2 separate regions of the Homo sapiens genome follow, and region 1 is linked to region 2. Evidence: promoter capture Hi-C in 16 types of primary human blood cells and fetal thymus (Javierre and others, 2016). All regions are on one chromosome and are shown on one strand. Each heading gives the region's core, a stretch centred on a gene start or on the middle of the fragment in contact. The rest is flanking DNA. Distances are from core to core; before and after follow the strand shown. Region 1 has its middle 8.0 kb from the start of NPR3. Region 2 holds the start of RXFP3 (relaxin family peptide receptor 3).

Evidence for each region. The method cuts DNA at HindIII sites, captures the fragments that hold promoters and counts their contacts. A CHiCAGO score of 5 or more calls a contact.
Region 1: a fragment that was not itself captured here is called in contact with the fragment with the promoter of RXFP3 in region 2 in 1 of 17 cell types (M0 macrophages); the score reaches 6.4 in M0 macrophages.

The regions. Positions count from the first base shown.
Region 1 is chr5:32,700,435-32,706,189 of GRCh38, reverse strand. It overlaps a transcript of NPR3 not described here. Among named protein-coding and RNA genes, the nearest start is that of NPR3, 8.0 kb to the left of the region's middle. The HindIII fragment of the contact is 1,772 bases long and covers 1,053-2,824 here.
Region 2 is chr5:33,935,126-33,941,027 of GRCh38, reverse strand. RXFP3 (relaxin family peptide receptor 3) reads right to left here and starts at 4,642. Exons shown (of 1, transcript NM_016568.3): 1 at 2,110-4,642. The coding sequence starts at 4,287. The coding sequence ends at 2,878. The HindIII fragment of the contact is 5,701 bases long and covers 18-5,718 here.

The DNA of each region.
Region 1 (5,755 bases), core at 689-3,188, 1.2 Mb after region 2:
GGAGCAGGCACCTCACATGCTGAGACAGAGTGCAGGGTTGGCAGGGAGGTGCCACACACTTAAACAGCCAGATCTCATGAGAATTCACTCACTATTGCCAAGGACAGCACCAAGTCATGAGGGATACGCCCCCATGACCCAAACATCTCCCACCAGGCCCCGCCACTGACATTGGGGATTACAATTCAGCATGAGATTTGGCAGGGACAATTCTCCAAATAAATGCTTTGGGATATTTCACTTGTTTAAAATTTCCATTGAAAGTTCTGCTTTTGTCTTCAACTAATCTGGCTGCAACAGTTTTGGCACCCATTGACTGGAATATTTGCTGAACTTTAATTTTTCCATTGGAAATGTGGAAGCTGAACCAATTGAGATATCTATGGCGTTGATTATTGTTTCTGCTGTTAATCGCTGGTCTTCCCCATTGATATGGTTTGAATCTGTGTCCCTCCCCAAATCTCATGTTGAATTGTAATCCCCAATATTTGAAAAGGGGACTGGTGGGAGGTGATTGGGTCACGGGGGCAGTTTCTCATGGTTTAACACCATCCCCCTTGGTGCTGTCATGGTGATAGAGTTCTCATAAAATCTAGTTGTTTAAAAGTGTGTAGCATCTCCCCCTCCCCATCCCTCTTCCTCCTGCTCTAGCCATGTAAGACATGCCTACTTCCCCTTTGCCTTCTGCCATGATTGTAAGTTTCCTGAGGTCTCCCCAGAAGCTGAGCAGACTGCCATCATCCTGCTTCCTGTACAGCCTGTAGAACTGTGAGCCAATTAAACCTCTTTTCTTTATAAATTACCCAATCTCAGGTATTTCTTTATAGCAGTGTGAGAATAGACTAATACAGGCACAAACAAGATTGGTTGGTTAGTTTGTTTTTTCTCAAAACTTGATGTGGATGGTCTGCCACTGTGGGCTTCATTATCAACATTATCTTGTCCTTTCTCAGAATGAGTTATCTATTTGTAAACTTCTGATTTCCTTAAGGCATTGTCCCCACAAGCTTTTTTTAAAGCATCAATTACTTCAGCATTTTTCAACCCAAGCTTCACTGTAAATTTAATGTTTCCCCTTGCTTCAATTTCAGCAGAATTCATTTTGCTCTGATAGTGCCTCAAATTGAATCCTATTCAGACATGTCATAAAAAGTTAGTATAAGTTTGTTAAAAAATAATTTTGAAATCTATGCATAGTTTTTTTCATAATACACATATTCCACAAACTTTTTGAAGACCACTTATATGCACTTCAACTTCATGCATACCAATACTGACTATGTTTAATGGATTTATTTAGTTGTACGCTGCCTTCTTCCAAAAAGGATTTGAGAAAGCACACAAATACATAAAATCAAATTTTAGAAAACTTTCCTGCCCTGGCTGGGGAGTGCAGGAAATGGGCACTGGGCCATGTGCAAACGCCAGCGCATGTTGCAGAGCCATTGGGTCTTACTCTCTTGTAATGGCCTCAGAAATGATCTCCTCTCCCATCTCAGTTTCCATAACATTGCTCAGATTTGTGATCACACCAAATTGTATTTCCATTTGCAGGAAAATATGTCTGGGTTGGGATCCAGTCTCCAGGGTGGTATACTGTGTTAAGATCATGCATTTAGAAGCCTCATCAAAATGTCTGCGCATTATCACTTAACCTGTTTAACCTTCACTTTCTCAATTTTCTCATTTCTAAAATAGAGATATCATTTGGAAGACAGAGCAAGCTGGCTAAATAGAAGCCCCCACCAGTTGTCGTCCCCACAGGAACACCAAATTGAACAACTATACACACACACACACACACACACACACACACACAAAGAGCCAAAAGAACACTTCATAAGAACCAAAAACCAGATGATAAATCACAGTACCTGGTTTTCATTTCATATCACTGAAAGGGGCATTAAAAAAGGGTAGGAAAGACAGCCTTGAATTGCCAATGCCAACCTTCCCCCATCCCCCAGCAGCAGCCATGTGGTGTGGAGAGAGAATCTGTGCACTTGAGAGACAGAGTGCAATGACTGTGGGACTTTGCACTGGGACCCAGTGCTGCCTTTTAACAGCAGAAAGAAATACTGGGCAGAACTCAGCCAGTGCCCATGAAGGGAGCATTTACACTAGCCCTAACCAAAGGGGAATCATCCATCCTAGTGGTTGGAACCTGAGATACAACAAGCCTTGCCACAGTGGGCTAAAGTGCTTTGGGTTCTAAATAAACTTGAAAGACAGTCTAGGCCACAGGGACTGCAATTTGTGGGCAAGTCCTGGTGCTGTGCTAGGCGTGGAGCCAGTGGATGTGGGGGACACATGACCTAGTGAGACACCAGCCAGGATGGCCAAGGCAGTGCTTGCACCCCACCCTCTCCCAACCCCAGGCAGTGCAGCTTGCAGCTCCACAAGAGACTCCTTCCTTCCACTTGAGGAGAAGAAATGGAAGAGAAAAGAGGACTGTCTTGCAATTTGGCTACCAGCTCAGCCACAGTAGGATAGGCCACCAAAAGGAGTCCTGAGGCCCCCATTCCAGGCCCTAGCTCCCAGATGACATTTCTAGAAATATTCTGGGCAAGGAGGGAACCTGCTGCCTTGAAGGGAAGGACCCAGTCCTGGCAGGATTTATCACCTGCAGTCTAAAGAGCCTTTGGGCCCTGAATAGTCAGCAGTAATAGCCAGGAAGTATTTGCTGTGGGCCTTTGGTGAAACCCAGGGCTATGCTGGCTTTAGGTGTGGCCCAGCACATTCCCAGCCATGGTGACTACTGGGAGAGACTCCTTCTGCTTGAGAAAAGGAAAGGGAATAGTAAAGGGGGCTTTGTCTCAAAGCTTAAGTGCCAGCTCAGCCACAGTGGCATAGAACACTAAACGGGCTTTTGGGGTCCCCAGTTCCAGGCCTTGGCTCTTGGAAATGGAGACCCCAAGATGCCATTAGATGGCATTTATGGATACTCCCTGGGCCAGAGGGGAGCCCAGTGCCCTGAAGGGAGACTCCCAGGCCCAGCATTTATGACAAGCTAACTGAAGAGTGCTTGGGCCATGAGTGAACATCAGCAGTAGCCAGGAAGTACTCATCATAATCCTGAAGTGGTGATGACCATATGGAGAGATTCCTTTGCTTATGAAAAGGGAAAGGAATAGTGGCACAGAATTTGTCATGTGGCTGAAAAAATGCTCACCATCACTGGCCATCAGAGAAATGCAAATCAAAACCACAATGAGATACCATCTCACACCAGTTAGAATGGCAATCATTAAAAAGTCAGGAAACAACAGGTGCTGGAGAGGATGTGGAGAAATAGGAACACTTTTACATTGTTGGTGGGACTGTAAACTAGTTCAACCATTGTGGAAGTCAGTGTGGCGATTCCTCAGGGATCTAGAACTAGAAATACAATTTGACCCAGCCATCCCATTACTGGGTATATACCCAAAAGACTACAAATCATGCTGCTGTAAAGACACATGCACACGTATGCTTATTGTGGCACTATTCACAATAGCAAAGACTTGGAACCAAACCAAATGTCCAACAATGACAGACTGGATTAAGAAAATGTGGCACATATACACTATGGAATACTATGCAGCCATAAAAAATGATGAGTTCATGTCCTTTGTAGGGACACGGATGAAATTGGAAATCATCATTCTCAGTAAACTATCGTAAGGACAAAAAAAACCAAACACCGCATGTTCTCACTCATAGGTGGGAATTGAACAATGAGAACACATGGACACAGGAAGGGGAACATCACACTCTGGGGACTGTTGTGGGGTGGGGGGAGGGGGGAGGGATAGCATTAGGAGATATACCTACTGCTAAATGACGAGTTATTGGGTGCAGCACACCAGCATGGGACATGTATACATATGTAACTAACCTGCACATTGTGCACATGTACCCTAAAACTTAAAGTATAATAATAATAAAATTTAAAAAAAGAATTTGTTATGTGGCTTGGGTACCAGCTCAGCCGCAGTAGACTAGTGCGCCAGGTAGATCCTAAGGTTTCCAACTTTAGGCCCTGGCTCCTGGATGGCATCTCTGAACCTACCCAGGGGCAGGGGGAACTCAGCATCCTGAAGAGAAGAACACAAGCCTGGCTGGCTTTTCCACCTGTTAATTGTAGAGCCTCAGGGCCTTGAGTGAACCTAACTGGTAGCAAGGCAGTGGTTACTACAGACCTTGGGCAATACCCACTGCTATGCTCGCTTCAGATCTGACCCAGCACAGTCCCAGTGGTGGTGGCCACAACAGAGATACTTATGTCAGCATTCCCTGGCTTCAGGCAGCTCAGCACAGAGAGAGAGACTCCGTTTGTTTGGCAGAAAATAAATGGAAGAGAAGAAGAGTCTCTGCCTGGTAATCCAGAGTACTCTTTCGTGTCTCATCCAAGACCACCAAGGCAGTACCTATATAAGTCTGCAAAAGCCACAGCATGACTGAGCTTGGGATGCCGCCTAATGCAGATACAGATGCAGTGACCAAAAACTTAGATTACAATACCCAAGTCCCTTTGAATACCTGGAAAGCCTTCCCAAGAAGGATGTGTGTAAAGAAGCCCAGACTGCAAAGACTACAATAGATGCCTAACTCTTCAATGCCCAGACACTGACAAACACCCACAAGCATCAAGATCATCTAGGAAAACATGACCTCACCAAATGAACTAAATAAGGCAACAAGGATCAATCCTGGGAAGACAAAGATACGTGATCTTTCAGACAGAGAATTCAAAATAGCTGTTTTGAGGAAGCTCAATGAAATCCAAGATAACACAGGGAAGGAATTCACAGTCCTATAAGATAAATTCAACAAACACATTGAAATAATTTAAAAGAATCAAGGAGAAATTCTGGAGTTGAAAATGCAATTGACCTACTGAAGAATGCATCAGAGTCTCTTAACAGCAGAAGTGATCATGCAGAAGAAAAAACTAGTGAACATGAGGACAGGATATTTGAAAATACATAGTCAGAGGAAACAAAAGAAAAAATAATAATAAAAAAACAGCCAGCAGACACTTGAAAAAATGCTCATCATCAGTGGTCATCAGAGAAATGCAAATCAAAAATACAATGAGATACCATCTCGCGCCAGTTAGAATGGTGATCATTAAAAAGTCAGGAAATAACAGATGCTGGAGAGGATGTGGAGAAAGAGGAACATTTTTACACTGTTGGTGGAAGTGTAAATTAGTTCAACCATTGTGGAACACAGTGTGGCGATTTCTCAAGGATCTAGAACTAGAAATACCATTTGACCCAGCCATCCCATTACTGGGTATATACCCAGGAGATTATAAATCATGCTACTATAAAGACACATGCACATGTATGTTTATTGTGGCACTATTCACAATAACAAAGACTTGGAACCAATCCAAATGTCCATCAATGATAGACTGGATTATTAAAATGTGGCACATATACACCATGGAATACTATGCAGCCATAAAAAACGATGAGTTCATGTCCTTGGCAGGGACATGGATGAAGCTGGAAAGCATCATTCTCAGCAAACTATCACAAGGACAGAAAACCAAACACCACATGTTCTCACTCATAGGTGGGAATTGAACAATGAGAACACATGGACACAGGGCGAGGAACATCACACACCAGGGCCTGTCGGGGGGTGGGGGGCTGGGGAAGGGATAGCATTAGGAGAAATACCTAATGTAAATGATGAGTTGATGGGTGCAGCAAACCAATATGGCACATGTATACCTATGTAACAAACCTGCACATTGTGCGCA
Region 2 (5,902 bases), core at 3,393-5,892:
ATTCCAACATCAAAGCTTTTAGTCACCACATTTTATTAGCGTTGAATATCCTCTCTACCTCCGAACCAACCCCTGCCATTCTGCCTAAACTGTGCCCATATATTTAGACCTGTCTCAAATATTATTTTGACCAGAAAGTCTGACCTCCCAGCAGGATCAACTTTTCCTTCCTTTGTCTTTCTTTCTTTCAGCCTTACTTTGACATTCAGCTGATCATTCCCTGTCTTATCTTGCTTGTGCTCACCGCTGTCTGTCCTTTTACGTGTGGAGGTCAGAAACGTGTCTGGTTCGTGTACATCACCTCAGCACCCTGCACAGGGGATGGCACAAAACAGCCACTCAAAAAGTAATTGTTGATTACAATTGATCTGACCATTTCCTTTGGTGACCCTTTTGTCTTTGTGGTAGACCAAAGTCATGATCTTTGATCCCTCCTGCCATGTTCTCAGAAGCCTTGTGCTTGGGATTTGGACAAAGTGACCCTTTTTATAGAGGTTATTTTTTTCCCATTCCTCCAGCTCCTTCTTTGCTGTTTTTCTAGTGCCCATAGTAGCAGATGCACATACTTCAACACCCTTTCCTAAAAATTCTGAGCTACCCATACATTATTTTATTGTTAAATTGAAATGGAAATTTGCTTTGATAAGAATCTCTCAGTAAGAGTCTATTATCCGTGTTATAGATGTATCTCCTACCGTGCAAATGTTAGTTTTCTCCTGTGTTTACTTTTTCATGTATTTTGTATTTTGGGGACCTTTGTGGAGCTTACATTTCAGTCTTTGTTAGCCTAATTGCTATTCAATATCTATATCAATAATTGTTCTTCCCAAAGGGTGAAGAAAAAAATGGACTACTTCAAAACAAACACACCATTCAGTTTTCTAAAAGAGCTGACTTCACAAGACTGCTCAGAATCGCGACTGGCAGCTTCTGCCTTTGTGGGAAGGCATGAGTGTTTAGTCATTTCACTGTGTTTTGCAATCACAGAAAGCAGATCAGGGAAGGTGGGAGTTGTAGATCTCACATTTTGAGCCCTGAATCTCAGATACTGCAGAAAACTTTCAACGACATCACTAAACAATTCTACCGTTCAAGAGGCTCTTTAAACAGACCTGTTTTTACGAATGGCTATTTTTTATATTAAACCAACCACCCTGGTGGGTGCCTGCATCATTGGTTTTTTGGCCCCAAACCAGGTTGCCGAAGAGAGTAGCAGTACCTCTATGAAAGCCAGCAGAGGGGTAGGTAGACTGATGTTTGATCCCAGTTCTTAGAAGAGCCTCAAGAAAGGACTTTGTGAGGGTTTAACATCTTAAGCTCCTGTGATCAAAACAGAGTCAACATGAGAAATGTGAGGCGGTCTTCAGAGACAGCTCCATAAACTGTCTGGAGGCTGGGAAAGAATTTGTCATGCATGCTTAATATGTAAAGCACTCTTTAGAATAAATGGAAATTGGTGATGGTAATGTCCGATGGGAATTACTATTTCCTACCTTCTCTTGTCAATAATATAAGCAATAAAAAAGCCCACAACTGAAATTCTGATGATACCCTCAGAACAGTTTCCCCAGTACTCTGCTCGCTTTAGAACATGGTACCTGAACCTTCTATTTTCTTTCCTACCCCACACCTCTGTTTGAGAGATCCGACCCAGCTTCTAGGAATTTGGTTTCCAAGATTCCACTTCCCCCCGCCCCCCGCCCCAATTCCCCTTGCACATTTCTGCGGTATTTCTTCCTCTTCTATCTAAGCCTACCAGAAAAAAATTAATAATAAAATAAATACTGAACCATCCCTCTACTCGCTGGTCCAGGGCCTCAATCAAAGGAACAGCTTGATTCCCAAAGCGTGGGAAGGGAGGAACTGAAGAAGTGCCCCCACTCCTCCCAGTAGAGCTATTCAAGATGCCTCCGGGCCCAGCTCACCGGCAGCACGCAGACTGCTCTCAGAGGAACTGGAGCGCCCGAGCTTCCTGCGCGCAACGCGCCAGCGCTCCACTTCCAACTCTGCTACCAAGTGAGCATATGAGCCCCCTTTTACCTTTTGGGGCAGCAGCCTGAAGAAATTTCCCTGTCCAGCCCTTCTAATCACACTGTGTCTCCTCCCTCCCGCAGCGACGACACTCCCCAGAGAATGGCTCTCCCAAGCTGGTGACAGGTGTTATCCCCCTGCTAACGTCTGAGCTCCGGGGCTGTGCAGCTAGGTCGGGCTCAGGGTGTTCCCGCTGGCCCAGTCCGGAATGATAATTGTCATAATGACTCCATTGGAGGTGGCTTTCCTTTGCCGTTTCTCCTGTGGGCGGACCAGGATGGTCAGTTCTTTTTCTTAACTCCAAAAGCGTTTCTTGCCTACCAGCTCTAGATTCCTGGGGCAGCCCCGCAGCAAGTAGGACCTTGGCGCTGCTGCAGTCTCGTTTGCCAAGACGCAAAGGAGTGTTTGTGCCGACGGCTGCCCTCTCCGCAGAAGTCGCTGGAATAAACGGGCACAATTGTCTGTGCATCATTTGGCTAAGCCCCGCTCCCCGTGCCAATTTCTCTACATTTTTGCTGCTTGTCTTCGCTTCTGGGCGCCCCCACACTACTCAGCGTGGGAAGAGTAAGGAGAGGCTGTGGGGTGCGGAGCGGAGGTTGGCTGTCTGGCCCGTGGGGCTCGTCTCTATCCCTTTGCCAATTTCCTCTCTCCACCCGATTTCGAAGCATCTCCTCTCCAGAGAAGGTCCTCGGCCTATCCACAGGCTCCTCCTCCATGCTCTGCCCATCCTCCTCCCACCTACTTCTTAAATGGGGCCCCCCCCAGCCCTCCTTCATCCTTTCACCTCTTTACCGCCCGGGGAAGGCCACCTTGCCCCGACGGCGCGCCCTGGGCCTGAGGCCTGCGTCAGTAGGCAGAGCTGCTGGGCAGCAGGTCGTAGCGCCCCCCGCTGTAGACCACGACGCCAGGTGGGTAGTAGAGCAGGTCCGGCTCCGCGGCCGCGTGGGGCGGCGCCGGGGCCTGCAGCCCCTGATCCTCGTGCTCCGGCTTGGTAGTGGCGGTGAAGGGGCGCATGCTGGTGATCGAAGGAGACGCGATGCGCCACAGCAGGCTCTTGAGCGCCTTGCGGAACTCGCGGCGCACGAGGCAGTAGAGGACGGGGTTGAGGCAGCTGTTGGAGTGCGCTAGGCACACGCTCACAGGGAACGCGTATACCTGGCACAGGAAATACTCCTGGCTGAAGGGCACCGCGTTGAACTTGATGAGGATGCTCCAGGTGGTGAGCGCCTGGTTGGGCAGCCAACACAGGAAGAAGGACAGGACAACGATGGTCACTGATTTGGTGACCTTCGACAGTCTCCGGGCGCTGGCTCCGGTCGGGCGTCCTCCGGCTACCGCGGCCCCTCCTTTGGTCCCCGCCGCGCGGCGGTCGGCGATGAAGCGCACCAGCAGCAGGTAGCACAAGATAATGATGCCCAGCGGCAGCACGAAGCCCAGCAGCACCTTCTGCGAGTGGTAGAGGCCCAGCCAGAACTGCCTGTCGCGGCCCAGCAACTTGTCCGGGAAACGCACCAGGCACAGCTCCTCGCCCATCACCTTGACCGTGGTGGAGAAAATGGCACTGGGCAGCGAGGCCAGCGCGGCCAAAGCCCAGATCCACACACACAGCGCCTTGGCCGAGAAGCAGCAGCTGTCCCCCAGGCTCCGGCCGCAGCAGTCGCCCCGGCCGTGTCCTCGGGTCCGGTGGCTCTTCAGAGCCGAGGCCACCGAATGGTAGCGCGTCACACTCATGGCAGTGAGGAAGAACACGCTGGCGTACATGTTCATGGACGTCACCATGGACACGATCTTACACATGGCCTTGCCGAAGGGCCATTTGAAGTCAAGAGCGTTCTCCACCGCCCAGAAGGGCAGGGTGAGCACAAACTGAAAGTCCGTCAGCGCCAGGTTGGTGACGAAGAGGTTGATAGAGGACTTGCGCCAGCCCTGCATGCTCTTCATCAGGTAGAGAACCAGCAGGTTGCCCGCCAACCCCAGGGCGCACACCACCCAGTACACCACGCTGATGAGAATCCGCACCCGGGCCTCTGTGTCCGCGCTCTCTGCCCCGCCGCTGCCCGGGGGATGTCCTGGCGGCGCGCCGTCCGGCAACTCCAGCCCCAGCTCCCACCACAAGTCCGGAAGCTGCAGCGACGCGTTACCACTCGTGTTGGCCGCCTCCAGAAGGTCCGGGACCAGACTGAAGAGTTCTGCTAGCTTGTCCCCGCCTGCTGCCTTATTCATGGTGGCTATCGTGGCTGCATCGGCCATCTGCATGCGCAGGTACCTCTAGGTCATGTTCTGGGGGACAAGACCTAAGATAACACGGTTTACCCCAGTTTTGTTGCCAGGCTAGCCTGCGGGACGTGCGTGGGAGCTTTCAAAGCAGCTACTGAAGAGAGAGCCCAGGAACTGGGTACTAAGCGCGTCCTGGCGCGCAGCGAACGCCCTGGACGCAGGAGTTGAGCTCAGCGGCTGCTTTGGAGCAGAGTTGAGGAGTGCAGCCCGTAAGGCAAGCACTCGGCGTCCAAGGGTTCTCAGGCCAAGCTCGGAGTCCCTAGGTCCTTATGTACAACGCAGACTTCCCCTCTCCGTGTCCCGCGGTCACTGGGGCACTGGCGCATAACTCCCCCAGCCGCTCAATTGTGCGATTTGGGGCCGCTCGCTCCCTTTCAAATACCTTTATCCGTTTCCTCTGGGACTGCTTGGATGAGGTTTCCGTCCTTGGAGAGAAAGAGATCGTAGAGTTCCATCCACCACGCTCAGCTTCCTGGAGGTCAGTGGGTGTCTGCGTCTCTCCGCGGTTGTCAACTCCGGGTGGGTTGCCAGCGGCTCTCACCAGTTACGGTGGCACTTGCACGGCCAAGGCGGCGGGCCCCAAGGAGCATGCGTAATCCCGGGGCGCCGCGAGGGGCGCTTTCCGAGGTGCTGAACCCAGCCGCGCCCGCGCCGCGAGGGAGAGTTGAGCTGCAGGCAAAGCCCACCCGCCACTCCAGTTTTCCTCTCCAGAGTTTCAGCAGGAAGGGTCTTAAGAGTTTATTTTACAGCTGCAGGAGAAAGTCGGCTTTGACGTGAGTTTCTTCTTCCTTTCTTATTCCCAAACATTATGATTAGAAGTTTTTTTTTTCTTTCTTCCTCACTCCCACTTTTCACCGGAATTATTCCATTTGGTGAGGAATTGTTCTAAAAATATGAGCTATCCTGCTTACTTTCCTTCTTGAAAGTAATAACAGTGGCCTCTTTTCATGCTCAAATGAGATAATGGGTACTTATTGGATACACAAAGGACAGCTCCACCTCCCCTCTTTAATTAGCTGACCACTTACGCAGTACCTGTGTTTGTCAGGATTTTCAAAGGGTCTTCACATGGCAGAAGTCTGGGCTCAAGGGTTGCCCCTACTTTAATGTATTCTGAGAGGTGACACAAAAACAGAGCAAACAACTGATGGTCCTACTTCACAGAAATTAAATGCCCTAAGCCCAAAGCGCTTCAACAAATTGTTTGATCACATACAGGCCACAGTCTCTTTACCTAGATGCAAATAGAATAGAGGATACCACTGGGCTGATCGTGAACCACCAGCCCTCCTATTTCCATTACTGTTAGCATCAGGACTCTTTTTCAGGCGTTTTTCAGACCAATGGAAGTACATTCTAAGGACTCTTCCAAGGGAATGAGTGGAAACCACTTGAATTACTTCTCAAGCTTCAGTCTACATAAATGCCAGGTCAATCGCTCTGGTGTAAATTACACTTTTAGGATTTACTTTAAAATTTTGAAATGTTTTCCTCTTGGTCTGGGACTAAACTGAAACCAAAGTTTCTTAAGCATAATTGTCCTCACTCCTGGAGTACTACAGAACTCCCAGCTTTACTTAAGGAGATAAAGAGG